Linked DNA regions of Homo sapiens: regions 1, 2, 3 and 4 are each linked to region 5. The links are contacts of gene promoters, found by promoter capture Hi-C in blood cells and fetal thymus (Javierre and others, 2016). All regions are on one chromosome and are shown on one strand. Each heading gives the region's core, a stretch centred on a gene start or on the middle of the fragment in contact. The rest is flanking DNA. Distances are from core to core; before and after follow the strand shown.

Evidence for each region. Contacts are between HindIII fragments. The CHiCAGO score rates a contact against its expected background, and 5 or more counts as called.
Region 1: a fragment that was not itself captured here is called in contact with the fragment with the promoter of IFIT5 in region 5 in 1 of 17 cell types (erythroblasts); the score reaches 5.7 in erythroblasts.
Region 2: a contact is called between a fragment that was not itself captured here and the fragment with the promoter of IFIT5 in region 5, in 1 of 17 cell types (neutrophils). The highest score is 7.5, in neutrophils.
Region 3: a fragment that was not itself captured here is called in contact with the fragment with the promoter of IFIT5 in region 5 in 5 of 17 cell types (erythroblasts, neutrophils, megakaryocytes and 2 more); the score reaches 7.2 in erythroblasts.
Region 4: a contact is called between a fragment that was not itself captured here and the fragment with the promoter of IFIT5 in region 5, in 4 of 17 cell types (megakaryocytes, M0 macrophages, M1 macrophages and 1 more). The highest score is 8.2, in megakaryocytes.

Annotation. Positions count from the first base shown.
Region 1 is chr10:89,228,364-89,231,063 of GRCh38, forward strand. It overlaps LIPA (lipase A, lysosomal acid type), which reads right to left. Exons shown (of 10, transcript NM_000235.4): 4 at 1-35. Among named protein-coding and RNA genes, the nearest start is that of LIPA, 22 kb to the right of the region's middle. The HindIII fragment of the contact is 2,654 bases long and covers 73-2,700 here.
Region 2 is chr10:89,208,970-89,211,669 of GRCh38, forward strand. No RefSeq gene overlaps it. Among named protein-coding and RNA genes, the nearest start is that of CH25H, 3.0 kb to the left of the region's middle. The HindIII fragment of the contact is 3,077 bases long and covers 1-2,700 here.
Region 3 is chr10:89,271,176-89,273,875 of GRCh38, forward strand. It overlaps a transcript of LIPA not described here. Among named protein-coding and RNA genes, the nearest start is that of LIPA, 21 kb to the left of the region's middle. The HindIII fragment of the contact is 5,893 bases long and covers 1-2,700 here.
Region 4 is chr10:89,573,577-89,576,414 of GRCh38, forward strand. No RefSeq gene overlaps it. Among named protein-coding and RNA genes, the nearest start is that of MIR107, 18 kb to the right of the region's middle. The HindIII fragment of the contact is 188 bases long and covers 1,325-1,512 here.
Region 5 is chr10:89,413,264-89,415,963 of GRCh38, forward strand. It overlaps IFIT5 (interferon induced protein with tetratricopeptide repeats 5), which reads left to right and starts at 1,305. Exons shown (of 2, transcript NM_012420.3): 1 at 1,305-1,540. The coding sequence starts at 1,536. It also overlaps a transcript of LIPA not described here. RefSeq lists enhancers at 1,162-1,471, 2,082-2,181, 2,282-2,351. The HindIII fragment of the contact is 3,334 bases long and covers 1,273-2,700 here.

The DNA.
Region 1 (2,700 bases), core at 150-2,649, 180 kb before region 5:
CAAGCCATGTTGCAGGAAGACAACTGGTTTGGGACCTGAAAAACATTCATTGTTTAGGAGGCAGTAGCACCAAGCTTCAAAACAAATATGATATCTTGCTAAATAGAACATTCGTAAAAGATCCATAAGCAAATAATGAACTAGAAATAAATTGAAAGATTGACATAGTGATGTACTCACATATAATGTTAGTAAAGAATTTTTTTAAAACAGCACTGGCAAGGTAGCAGTGAAACTGGACCATTTTTTGCATGTCCACTAACAAGACACACTTATGTAAGCAGCAAAAACAAAAATCAATATATTTTTAAGAAATTATAAAATGTTTTTACAATTTTTTTCTTATAAAATGTTTTTACAATTTGCTTTCGTAATTGCATTTCTCACAATAATTCCTAACAAAATAAACAAAAGGAAAGAAAAAGATCACACATAATGAGACATCACTATACACGTATCAGAATGAGCAACATCCAAAAACGCTGAAAACACCAACTGCTGAAGAGGATGTGGAGGAACAGGAACTCTCATTCATTGCTGGTGGAAATGCAAACTGGTAGCACCACACTGGAAAAGTTTGGCAGTTTCTTACAAAACTAAACATACTCTTACCATATAATCCAGCAATCACATTCCTTGGTATTTTACCCAAAGGAGTTGAAAACTTACATCTACACAAAAACCTGCATACAGATGTCTATAGTAGTTTTACTCATAATTGCCAAAATTTAGAAGCAACCAAGATGTGCTCCAGTAAATGAATGCATAACTAAACTGTGCTACATCCAGACAATGGAGTATTACTCAGCCCTAAAAGGAAATGAGCTATCAAGCCACAAAAAGATGTAGAGGAACCTTAAATACATATTACCAAGATCTGTAAAGGCTGCATTCTATATGACATGCTGGAAAAGACAAAACTATAGAGAGAGTAAAAAAGATCCTGGTTGCCAGGGGTTAGGAGGGAGGAAGGAATTCATAGACAGAGTAAAGAGGATTTTTCAGGGCAGTAAGACTACTCTGCATGATACTATAGAGGTAGACACATGCCATCATACATTTGTCCAAAACTATAGAATATACAACATCAAGAGTGAACTGTAGTGGCCGGGTGTGGTGGTTCATGCCTGCAATCCCAGCACTTTGGGAGGCTGAGGCGAGTGGATCACTTGAGGTCAGTAGTTCGAGACTAGCCTGGCCAACATGGCGAAACCCTGTCTCTACTAAAAATACAAAAAAGGTAGCTGGGTGTGGTGCCCCACACCTGTAATCCCAGCTATTCAGGAAGCTGAGGCAGGAGAATTGCTTGAACCCGGGAGGCAGAGGTTGCAGTGAGCCAAGATTGCACTGCTGCACTCCAGCCTAGGGGACAGAGGGAGACTCAGTCTCAAAAAAAAAAAAAAAAGGGAACCCTAATGTAAACTACGGACTTTGTGTGAATGTAGGTTCATCAGCTGTAACAATTACAATTCCACTCTGTGAGGGATGTTCATAACAGGGGAGTGTGGGGGCAGAGGGTGTATGGGAAATCTCTGTACCTTCCACTCAATTTTGCTATGAACTTAAAACTGCTTTAAAAAATAAAATTTAATAAAAATTTTTAAAGCTGAATAAAAGTTAAATAGATAAAAAGGCTCACACACACAAATTCATAAATATATGTGTCTGTGTCTGCCTGTGAGAATTTATTTTCTACTCACCTGTACCCGAGACAGTGATATAGCAGAAAAAACAAAGATGTGGGAGCCAAAGAAACCTGACCTCAAGCTGCTTACCTAACGCTGAGACCATTCAGTTATTCATGAAACAAGCCTTTATTGAGTACCAACTATGTGCCAGGCCTTCTTCTCAGCACTGAGAACACAGCAGAGAACAAAAACAAGAGGAAAAAAAGTACCTCCATGGAGCTGACATTATACTGACCATGAGTTTTATCCACTTATTTGATTGATTGATTGATTGAGATAGGATGTTGCTCTGTGACCCAGGATGGAGTGCAGTGGCGTGATCTCTGCTCACAGCAACCTCCACCTTCTGGGCTCAAGTGATCCTTCCATCTCAACCTCCTGAGTAGTTGGGATTTCAGGCGTGCACCAACACACCCAGCTAATTTTTGTGTTTTTTGTAGAGACAGTGTTTCACCATGTTCCCAGGCTGGTCTCAAACTCCTGGACTCAAGCGATCCACCCACCTCGGCTTCCCAAAGTGCGGGGTTTACAGGTGTGAGCCACCACGCCCAGCCCGATCATGAGTTTTAGACAGCTCAAACAAACCTAGGCTCAACTCTGTCCTCTCCAAGTTCTAACATGACACCTTGGGGAAACATCTCCTAAAATTAATATAATTCCCTGAAGAGTAGAAATGATAATACACATTTTATAGGACACAGTGAGATATGAGATATTATATGAAAAGTAGGTAGCAAAGAGTCTGACACACAGTAAGAGTTCACTATATATCAACTCATACTATTAAGTTGCTTAACCAGTCTGCGTCTCAGTTCCAAAAATAATTGTTAAGAGGAATAAGTGAGGTAAGTATCCAGTATAGTGACTGACACACGGGTCACAGTGAACAAATGAGAGCTTCCTTTGCCCTCTGCTCATTCTTTATAACAGTGAAAAACTGGAAATAAGCTAATTGTCAAGTGGTCAAATAATTCATTGAAATCCACTTGGTATAATAATTATCCATCAACCA
Region 2 (2,700 bases), core at 36-2,535, 200 kb before region 5:
ATATGCATGGTATTTTAAATTTGTACTCCACACGTTACCTAAAGAATAACTGAGAAATTTGAAATTAAAATCAAGTAAGATTATGTAAAGAGAAATAAAAGATATAACGCCATCTATTATGAGGAAAGAACAAGTACTACAAAAATATGGACCAATATATGGGCCTAAAACTAAGATCATATATGGTATATATGCATACATATGATATATATAATATGCCAATTCATAATATGTAATATATAAGATATAGATACATATAATAGGCCAATTTGTAATTCAGAATCTCCTAACTGGTGTGTGTCCACTAACTGCCACTGATGGAATACTGACATTCCTTAGATGCTCATTCCCAGGAGCCCTCAGCAGTAGCCTCTAGCCCTACAGCAGCCTTTTTATTTAACCCAGGGTACTATGAAAACATTATTATATTCTGCTGACATATTTGCTGTTGATGAGATAAAGGTTCAGAAGCAGTGTTGAGTTTCTTGACAGCCAATACAAAAAGGGAACAAGGGTGAATTTTTCTAATGCTGCTGCTTTGATTTCTAGATGATAGCAGAAAATAGGTATAATGTAGGCCCCTAGTTGCTTCCAGTTAAACAACCTGTCCTTCCAAGGCTCTCCACCTCTACCGCCCATGCGCCCCCACCCCCCACAACATCTCCTCCCTTCCCCAGTGTTGTTTTCACTTCACTTTTAGGGTAAACCAGAAACTTTTCTTCTCATTCCGGCTAGACGTGGTCTTGTCCTTGATGCAGTGTTTCAGAGAAGAGCGTCCTTCTCACTGCTCCAAACGGACCATTAGAGCTCACTTTCTCAACATTAAAATTGGATTTCTGCTCATAAGTAAAATATCACTCAAATTTACCCTCAACAGAAGTTAGCCCTCAAATTTCCTTTCAGCACACATTGTCCTTTTCTTGTGGTCTCAGTTATCATGCTTGGGTGCTCTGGTTGCGAGAGCAAGAAAGATTTTTTTTTTAAGTGAGTGGCATTAGCAGGTTTGCTTAATTTGGATTTAGCTGCTAGATTTGCTGTCAAGACTGTCTCCTTTGAGTCCCCAGCCCCAACCAACCCATTCATTTTCTGCTTTGGTGTATCCACCGTCTATCGCTGTTAGAATAATGTCCATGTGCCAATTACAGAAGGCCGTGGGCAGCAAAACTTGAGAGCGCTGGCTTCAGCCTGCTTTGTCCATACTCTCCCCCGTGACTTTGTGGCACTTTGAAGGATAGCAACTAGCTTCTCTGCCATCTCTGCACTTGCAGCTGACCAGGACAGAAGTTTTTGTCTAACATACAAATGCAACCATCCCAGGGAAATTGATGAATTACAGTCCTGTTAGTTCTCCACTCTATATCATGTGGAATGCTGAACAATATGTCAGGTAACCAAAAACAGCATCACTTAATGGACCAAAATAAAATTGAACACTATCAAGTGCTGACTAAGGTGGTATCATTTCTTGAATTTGGCACATGCGCACCTTTAAACAGTTTTTATTTGCACAAAAATGTAATAGCTTGCTAGATGAATAGGTCTTTTTAGAGCACAGGGTGTATCTTCTAGGACTTCTTCTCACAGTGCCAAGCATTGCATCTTGTATGTAATGAGTGTTCAAAAGATATTTGTGGACTCAAGATTCATTTTAAAGGACATTAGCTCTAAATTGAGGCTAAAAAACAAATCTTTTTTTTTTTTCTGGAGTACTGCTTGATGTAGTTTGGATCTACCCACCTGTAAAGATGGTTTTCCCTAAAACGGGGTGTTTTCTGATTAGAACTTTGGCCACACCATTTCTTGTCCAATTGATGGTTTTCCGCAAAAGGGGGTGTTTTCTGACAGGTAGCATTAGAACTTTGGCCACGCCATCTCTTCTCCAGTTGATCATGGCTTCCTGCATATGGTTTTTATCTTAGTATGGTTTTTCTGGCGGAGTTGGAGGACAGGAATCTTTTATTTTCTGCTTATCACAGGGGTCAAATCACTTTTCTGAGAGTACAACAGTCAAGTTTGTGCACACTCATCACAATCTCAAAGTTATGTGGCACCAACTTACCAAAAGACTGTGGATGCTGCTCCCCTTCCCCCAGCAAATAGAACATGTAGTTAGCAAAGCCTGCCATCAATCACATAATCCCTTTTTTAAATGACCTTTATGAATTTCTTTTTCTTTCTCAAATTAGGTAAGGCCATTTGGGCATCTGTTTAATCAAAACTGTTCCTGGCTATTAGAGATGTGTAGTGTTGTGTAACAGGGAAGACTCATAGAGGTGGAATGATCTCGAATATCAAAATCTAATCCTTCATTTTAAAGACTGAAGATTAAAAATTCAGTCTCAGAAAAGTCAAGACAAGGCTAGCTAGGGATAAAAAGCAAGTTACAGCCAAACTGAGCAGAAAAGGGCCAGGGTTGGTTCCAAGGTAAGTATCTCTTCAGGAGGAGTTTGGTATTGGAAGGGGTCATTGAAGCTGCTTTTATGTGACACTTTACAAAAGACTCAGAAAACATTAATTAGCCGTGCCAAAAACAATAGGAGATGCTGATAAAGAACATGGGGATGTTAGCTTCCTCCAGACACTCTCCTGATGCTCCTATTAGTCCAAATACTGGTGCATATTTGGTTTTAAACACTTTCTATTCTGATCCACTTACATGTCGCATTTAAGTGGGCGCTTCTACTCACTTATACTGTTGAA
Region 3 (2,700 bases), core at 152-2,651, 140 kb before region 5:
GGAAGAGACTATTTGGTCTACTTTATAGATGGTTCTGCACAATACACTGGCATCACCCAAAAATGGCCAATGCAGTACTCCTGTCACATTTAGGGATGATTCTGAAGGACAGTGGTTATGGGACATTCCCCCAGTGGAAAGAGCTTTGAACGGTTCACCTGGATGTTCATTGTTCCTAGAAGGAGAGATGACCAGAGTGATGGATTTACATTGATTTGTAGCTTCATTAACCTGGAAAGTAAAACTGTCCCCAGCCACTTTGTACTCCTTATGCTAATTAACCAGCAGGCTTAAAAAAGGTGATTATTGTTCTGATGGGTGATTTATCCTGGCTATGAAGGGAAAATGGGGTTGCTACCACACAGTGAGGGTAAGGAGGAGTATGGTGGCTTGCAGGAGGTCTTCTGGGGTGCCTCTTTGTATTTCCATATCCTGAAATCAATATTAAAATGAAAACAATTCAATGCAGTGAGGACTGCTAATGGCAGTGACCCTTTAAGAATGAAGGTATGGGACAGCTCACCAGATAAGGAGTCATGACAAGAACCAGTGTTTGCCAAGGGCAAGTGTAATATGGAACAGGTGGTAAAAGAAGGAAGTCATAGGCTGGGCTCAGTGGCTTACGCTTGTAATCCCAACAGTTTGGGAGGCCAAAGCCGGCAGATCATTTGAGCCTCAGGGGTTTGAGACCAGCCTGGACAACATATCAAAACCCCAACTCTACAAAAAAAAAAACCCACAAAAACTAACCAGATACATTGTCACGCACCTGTAGTCTCAGCTACTCAGGAGGCTGCAGTGGGAGGATCACTTGTGCCTGGTAGGCTGAGGCTGCAGTGAGCCAAGATTGCACCACTGCACTCCAGCCTGGGCACACAGAGTGAGACTCTGTCTTAAAAAAAAAAAATTTAAAAAAAACTTTTGTTTTAAGCTCAGGGGCACATATGCACAATGTTCAGGTTTGTTACATAGGTAAATGTGTGTTATGGGGGTTGATTGTACAGATTCTTTCACCATCCAGGTATTAAGCGTAGTACCCATTAGTTATTTTTCCTGATCCTCTCCCTCCTCCCACCCCCTGCCCTCCAGTAAGCTCCAATGTGCATTGTTCCCCTCTATGTGTCCATGTGTTCTCATCATTTAGCTCCCTCTTATAAGTGAGAACATGCGGTATTTGGTTTTCTGTTCCTGTGTTAGTTTGCTAAGGATAATGGCCTCCAGCTCCATCCTTGTCCCTGCAAAAGACATGATCACATTCCTTTTTATTGCTGCGTAGTATTCCATAGTGTATGTGTACAACATTTTCTTTATCTAATCTATCATAGGGGCATTTAGGTTGATTCCATGTCTTTTCTATTGTGAATAGTGCTGCAATGAACATATACGTGCATGTGTCTTTATAATAGAATGATTTATACTCCTCTGGGTACATACCCGGTAATGGGATTGTTGGGTTGAATGGTATTTCTGCCTTTAGGTCTTTGGGGAATCACCACACTGTCTTCCACAATGGCTGAACTAATTTACACTCCCACCAACAGTGTAAAAGTGTTCCTTTCTCTCTACAACCTCGCCAGCATCTATTATTTTTGGACGTTTTATTAACAGCCATTGTGACTGGCGTGAGATGATATTTCATTGTGGTTTTAATTTGCATTTCTCTAATGAACAGTAATGTTGAGCTTTTTTCACTTGATTGTTGTCTGCATGTATGTCTTCTTTTGAGAAGTGTTTGTTCATGTCCTTTGCCCACTTTTTAATGGAGTTGTTTTTTTCTTATAAATGTGTTCCTTACAGATGCTGGATATTAGACCTTTGTCAGCTGCATAGATTGCAAAAAGTTTCTCCCATTCTGTAGGTTGTCTGGTCACTCTGAAGATAGGTAAAAGAAAGAAGTTATAAACACTAGCTACAACCTTGTGCCCTGTCTTAGAAATGAAGACTAAACAGTTAACATCAGAATTCCTCTTTTGGTGGAGGGGAGGGAAGCATAAGGAATTCCTTTCTATTTTTCTCTTTGTTTTTTGTAAAAGAAATTAACTTGATACATTTTCTAGAGTCAGAGTAGAACATATTGTCCCTCATTATAGGAGGAAGATGAGAGGATGAGCTGAGTGTCCTCTGGAAAAATGGAAATGGAGTCAGAGGTAGGGGTTGCTGGATGAGCCAGAGGAAGCATTTGTGGCACTATGTGTGACTGTTTTGGGGGTACTGGGAAGTTAATATCACATCTGGATCAACACAAGTGGCATAAACACAGTGTCAATGTAGCAGGAGCTCAGGAGACCAGGAGCACTGGAACCCAATTTACCTAGGCTTCTGTAAAGCATCAACAAAGGCTCTGAGAAAACAGAGCTGATGGTTAAGAACATTTTGACACCCTGGAAAGTGTTGTGCTGAGAAAAATATTGTGAATTGGGGAGCTGTGAGGAGCCTGCTAGGGAAAGAAGAATCACAACTGACAGGACAGTACTCATAATCTAGTCAAAGGTTTTAGCCGATGTAAAGACAGATAACATGTGTGGGTATTCATTGAGATATTCCTGAGCTGTAGGTCATTTACAGCAAGAAGGCAGATTTGAAATAAAACCAGGTATTTTATTGGGCCTCATTTCTTCAAGATGCTCTGTGAACATGAAGAATTCATAGGGCCAGAGAGCAAAGGTTAACACACTACAGCTCGTGGGCTGAAACCAGTCT
Region 4 (2,838 bases), core at 169-2,668, 160 kb after region 5:
GAAGTTTAAAAATTAGAATAATAGCAAAAAGTGTAATTTTCACTTCTCAAACTTGGTAGGTTTATTTTGGGAGTGGCCTTGAACCTATTTTGCAACTACTCCTTAGTAATTAAAATGAACTTCTCCTGAGTTGAAATGCAAGATGCAGTTAATGCTTCCAAAGTCTCTTCTGCAGGACTGGATCAATGAATAAAAACTGACACTAAAACATAAGTAGCAATTATTCAATAATTAATACTAATGAATTACTAAATCTCTACATCTTAAAAGTTTGAATACCAGTGTATTTAGAATTTGTTTGGCTTCCAAAAACTATGCATGCCATGGTGTTTTATTTTAAAACTTCAAATCCTAACACTATATACCTTTTTTAAAGTGTTAATTTCTCATTTCTTTTTCTTTTTTTTCTTTTTTCTGAGACGGAGTCTTGCTCTGTCACCCAGGCTGGAGTGCAGTGGTGCGATCTCAGCTCACTGCTCCTGGGTTCACGCCATTCTCCTGTCTCAGCCTCCTGAGTAGCTGGGACTACAGGCACCCGCCACCACACCTGGCTAATTTTTTTTTGTATTTTTAGTTAGAGATGGGGTTTCACCGTGTTAGCCAGGATGGTCTCAATCTCCCGACCTCGTGATCCTCCCGCCTCGGCCTCCCAAAGTGCTGGGATTACAGGCGTGAGCCACCGCGCCAGGCAGTTAATTTCTAAGTGTGGCTATATCTTCATAAAATCTCTCTCTATGGCCATTAAAATGGATTATGCCATAGATGAAATGGTCCTTAACATTCCATGGACAAAGACCCCTACAGCTTGATTTTGCTGAGATAATCTTCATAGTTAATTAAGGACCACAGAAGACTACCATGAGCAGCTGAGGTCAGACAGGGACTGTAGAAACACAGGCTAAAGGACACGAAGAATTGTGTAATTGACTAAATGTTCAGGGCACAGCCAACAAAACTCAATTGTTCTGGACAACCACACCATTTTCTCTAGAGTTGCTGAAAGTTGTGTGGGTGGGATCTACAGATAATTGCCCCACTTCTCCATTTCATTTTGCCTGTCTAAACATTGTATAAATAACTACTTGATAAATTCAATGTTGATGTTGGCACATGAACAGACAGACAGAAAAGTGACTGCTCATTTTAAAATGTATAAAGCCAATATAAATAGTAAACAAATCTCAAAGGAGAATGCCTAAAAATGTTTAAAATTCACAATAATGTTTAATTTACCAAATTTCAACCCACTTATGGAGCTTAATTCAAAAATACTTTTGGCTTATATTTAAAATAAAGTGACATTTGACAAACTGTTCAAATATTAAGCTTAAAAATGTACTCTTCCTAAATAATAATTTTAATACAAACTCTAGATCCACAACTTGCAGGATTAACTATCTCTTCCCCAATATGCCAAAAACACGTACACATCCAAATATGCATAGAGAATATGAATGCTAGAAAAGTTTAAGAATATATCATGAAAATATATTTCATATGTCAGGATAAATAAGCTTGAGTAGTTAATGAAAAATAATTATTTTAAAGTTTAAGTTGTCTTTAAAATTAAATTTTACATATATTTTCAAGATATATGAGAAGACATACACCACCTACCTCACTATGGAATGTGGTAAAACAAACATAATTTATATCTGTGTCATGGCAGCCAAATGGCATAAATTCTTTAGATGTTGAACTTTGCTAAAATAGCAACAGCAAATTTCATGAACAAAGTGAAGTGGAAGAGAAAAGAGAAGAACAATCCAATACAAAAACTGTCTAATTCTTTCTGGTTGCCTTATAGCCTAAAAGAAAATTTTAAACTCTCCTTAAGCCATAACTGCAAAAAATTTAAAAAGAAAATCCATCTGTTAAAACAAATTACGCAAATGGTATTGAGGCTACTTGAATTTATGTCACAGTGCCCTTAGTATTAACCACACCAACTGTGGGCCACACACGTTTGACTAAATGTGCTTAGTGGTTGATTCCAGAAATGTCATAATTCAAGAAATGTACAAGGAAAAAAACTAGTGGAAAAGCAAAAGTAACAAGTGGAATATTTTACAAAATTGAAAATAATACCACACAGGTCAAAAAAAAAACATCCAATTAACATATATAATTTCAGTTTTGTGCTATATTCCAATGGTTCTTTTCAGTCTTCTAATTTACATTGCTTTTTATATATTTCATTAATATATAGGCATATGTTGGAGAAATTGCAACTTTGTTTTCAGACCCAGGCAATCAAGTCACATGAATTTGTTTCCCAGCAGATGTACATGTTATGTTTAGAATATACTATAGTCTGTTAAGTTTGCAATAGCATTGTGTTAAAAAATATAGATACCTTAATTTCAAAAATACTTTACTGCCAAAAAATGCTAATAATCATCTGAGCCTTTAGCCAGTACTAATTATTTGCTGGTAGAGGGTCTCATCTCAATGTATTTGGCTGCTGACATCAAGGTGGTGGTTGCTGAAGGTTGTGGCAATTTCTTAAAATAGGACAAAAATGAAGTTTGCCACATTTGTTGACTCTTTCTTTCACAAAAGATTTATCTGCAGCATGTGATGTCATGTGATGGCATTTTACCCACAACAGGACTTTCAAAATTGAGGTCAATCCTTTCCAACCCTGCCGATGCTTTATCACCTGAATTTATGCAATATTCTAAATCCTTTGTTGTCATTTCAACAATGTTTACAGTGTCTTCACCAGGGGTAGATTCCATCTCGAGAAACCACTTTCTTTGCTTGTCCGTGAGAAGCAACTCCTCATCCTTTCAAGTTCTATCATGAGACTGCAGAAATTCAGTCATCTCTTCAGGT
Region 5 (2,700 bases), core at 55-2,554:
TATATTAAATTAAAAATCAGGTTCTTAATAGCCACAGGTGACCAGCAGTTTCTGTATAAGACAGTACAACTGTTAGAAGTGATTGCTTTAAATGAGGCACTCGCTTCAGGCACTAAGTTTTGAGGGGTGGGGTGCCAGAAGCTCAGTGATCAAGGTAGACAATATTTCAATGCAATATGTTTTTAAAAATTCAAAATCAGGCCAAGCATAGTGGCTCATGCCTGTAATCCCAGCATTTTGGGAGGCCACGATGGGCGGAACAATATTTAAGGTTTAGAAAAATATTTGTGCCCAGGTGTTGGAGACCAGCCTGGGCAACATGGCAAAACCCCGCCTCTACAAAAAATAAATTAATTAGCCCGACATAGTGGTGCACGCATATAGTCCCAGCCACTCAGGAGGCTGAGGTGGGAGGATCGCTTGAGCCATGAAGGTTGAGGCTGCAGTGAGCTGTCATCTCACCACTGCACTCCAACCTGAGTGACAGAGTGAGACCCTGTCTCAAAAAAAAAAAAAAAACCAAAATCAATGCAAAAGATGAATTATGGACAGGATATTGAGGTTTTGAATACAGACATTAACTCAATAAGGGTAAGGCCCGTGTCTGTTTTCTTTATTGTTATATTGACAGTACTTTGAACAAAGTCTGGCTCTTACAGTTGTTTGTCAATATTTGCTGAATGAATTCAAAGGGGACAAAATGTTTAAGGTATGGGTGTTTGACATTTTCTGCCTAGATCCCCAATACCACTCTTGTCTTTATTGGGTCCTTATTACAAAGCACCATTGGCGAAGGTATGGAAGAGAAGCAGTCTCCTACAATTGTGGGTAAGAGTGGATTTTTAAAGCTATTTGGCAATATCCGTCAAAACTTAAAATGTATATAGATTTTAGCTCCAAATTTCTCAGTTTACACCCAACAGAAATAACAGCATAGATGTATAGCATTGCAGTGTTGCTTGTTGAATCAAAAGACTGGAGTGGAAGCAGGGACTTAAGTTTCCGCCTGTAATCCCAGCACCTTGGGAGGCAGAGGCGGGCGCATCCCTTGAGATCACGACTGGGTGACACAGTGAGACGCTATCTCAAACAAACAAACAAACAAACAAACAGTTACACGGGCAGCATGCGAACTCAGCGTACTCAGGGAGGCAGATAAAAGCCGAGACCAAAGTGAAGGAGCCCAGCTGCAAATTCAACTCCGAAAGACCCTGGACTCCGCAAACGTCTGGCCGCGGCTCTTGAGCTCTTCTATTAAGTTTCGGTTTCTGAAGCTTACGTTTAGTTTCGATTTCTTAAGTTTCAGTTTCTGAGCGCTCGGCATCTGATTCAATCTCCAGTTTCCTGTTCTTGCTGGGGCTGGGGTCTCTCCTTTAACAAAGACACGCCGCGCGGCCGAGTCCAGGGGCTGCAGAGGCCTGGCGCGCGCACGCGCACGCGCACGCCCACCGCGCGGCTTCCCGCGGTCCCCGGTGCTGAGGAGAGAGCGATCCGAGGGACTGCGCCGCCCGGACGGCCTGCAGAGCGCTGCCATCATGAGGTAAGGGTTTTCCTTTGCCTCTCCTCCCAAGCCCTGCGTCGGCCTTGGTTTCAAACCGGGCTGCTTTTATTCATTTCCAGCGCAGTTCTGCGGCCTTTTCAGGGGCCGAGCCCCTCGCGCCCAGCAACCGGGCATCTGCGTTGGGGACCCTCCCCGGGCGCTCTGTCCCGGCGCGCGGCGTCTGAAGTCGGGCCTGCCGGGGAGGGTGGCCGAGTGGACGCTTCTCGGGAGTCCGGCCCCTCCCCAGCGCCTAAGAAGGCCGGTCAGGGAGGAGGAACAGGAGATGCTCCCCGGGAGCCTGTCCCATCCCTGGCGTCTGCGGTCGGGACTGTCAGGGTATGTGCCGGGCGACGCTCCCCCGGAAGGCCTGTCCACCCATCGCGACCCGACGGCTCTTCTCGGCAGCGGCGACGGTGACCGTGCTGGGTCCGCGGCCGCCGCCTCCGGGAAACTGGTCAGCGCCTGCAGAGCCCCCAGGCGCTGTTCCGGGGGCAGCTGCTACGTGCCACGGGTCTCCTTAGGCCTGTCGCGTGCCTCTCTTTCCAGCTGCCATTCCCTCGGTGTGGCATACGCGGTTTCGCCGCAGCCCTGCAGGCGTCAGGTTCGCCTGCCACTGCCAGTTTGCGTTTCTGATTTCTGGGTCTGAGTTCTTCCCTTCCCAGGAGCTACCTCTGTACCAAGCACAGATTGTTATCGTCCCACCCAATCCGCTGTTTTATGAGGATTTCTTTATCTGTTTCCTTTACTGATTTAGTATGATGGCGTCCTTTTCTTGATCATTTTGTATCCCCAGGGGCTAGCACCCCGCCCTGCACGTGGTTAGTGAACCTTCCGCATTTAATGAGTTGAGGAATGAGATGTTAAGGTCTTGGGCTCTAAAAGCAGATAGTCCCTTGTTCTAAATCCGGACTGAACTCCTACTAGTTGAGTGATCCCAAAGTTTCTCAAACTCTGTGAGTCTGTTCCTTATTTGTAAAAATTAATGGTGTCCATCTCTTGGGACTGTGGAAAAGGACAGTAATAAATCCTATCAGTTGACTGCTTAGCACATAATACTTGCACAATAAATGTTAATTATTCCCATTATAAGTTTAAAAAAAAAGTTTAAGTGCCACCCACACATCTAACTTTATTTTTGAGACGGAGTCTCGCCCTGTCAC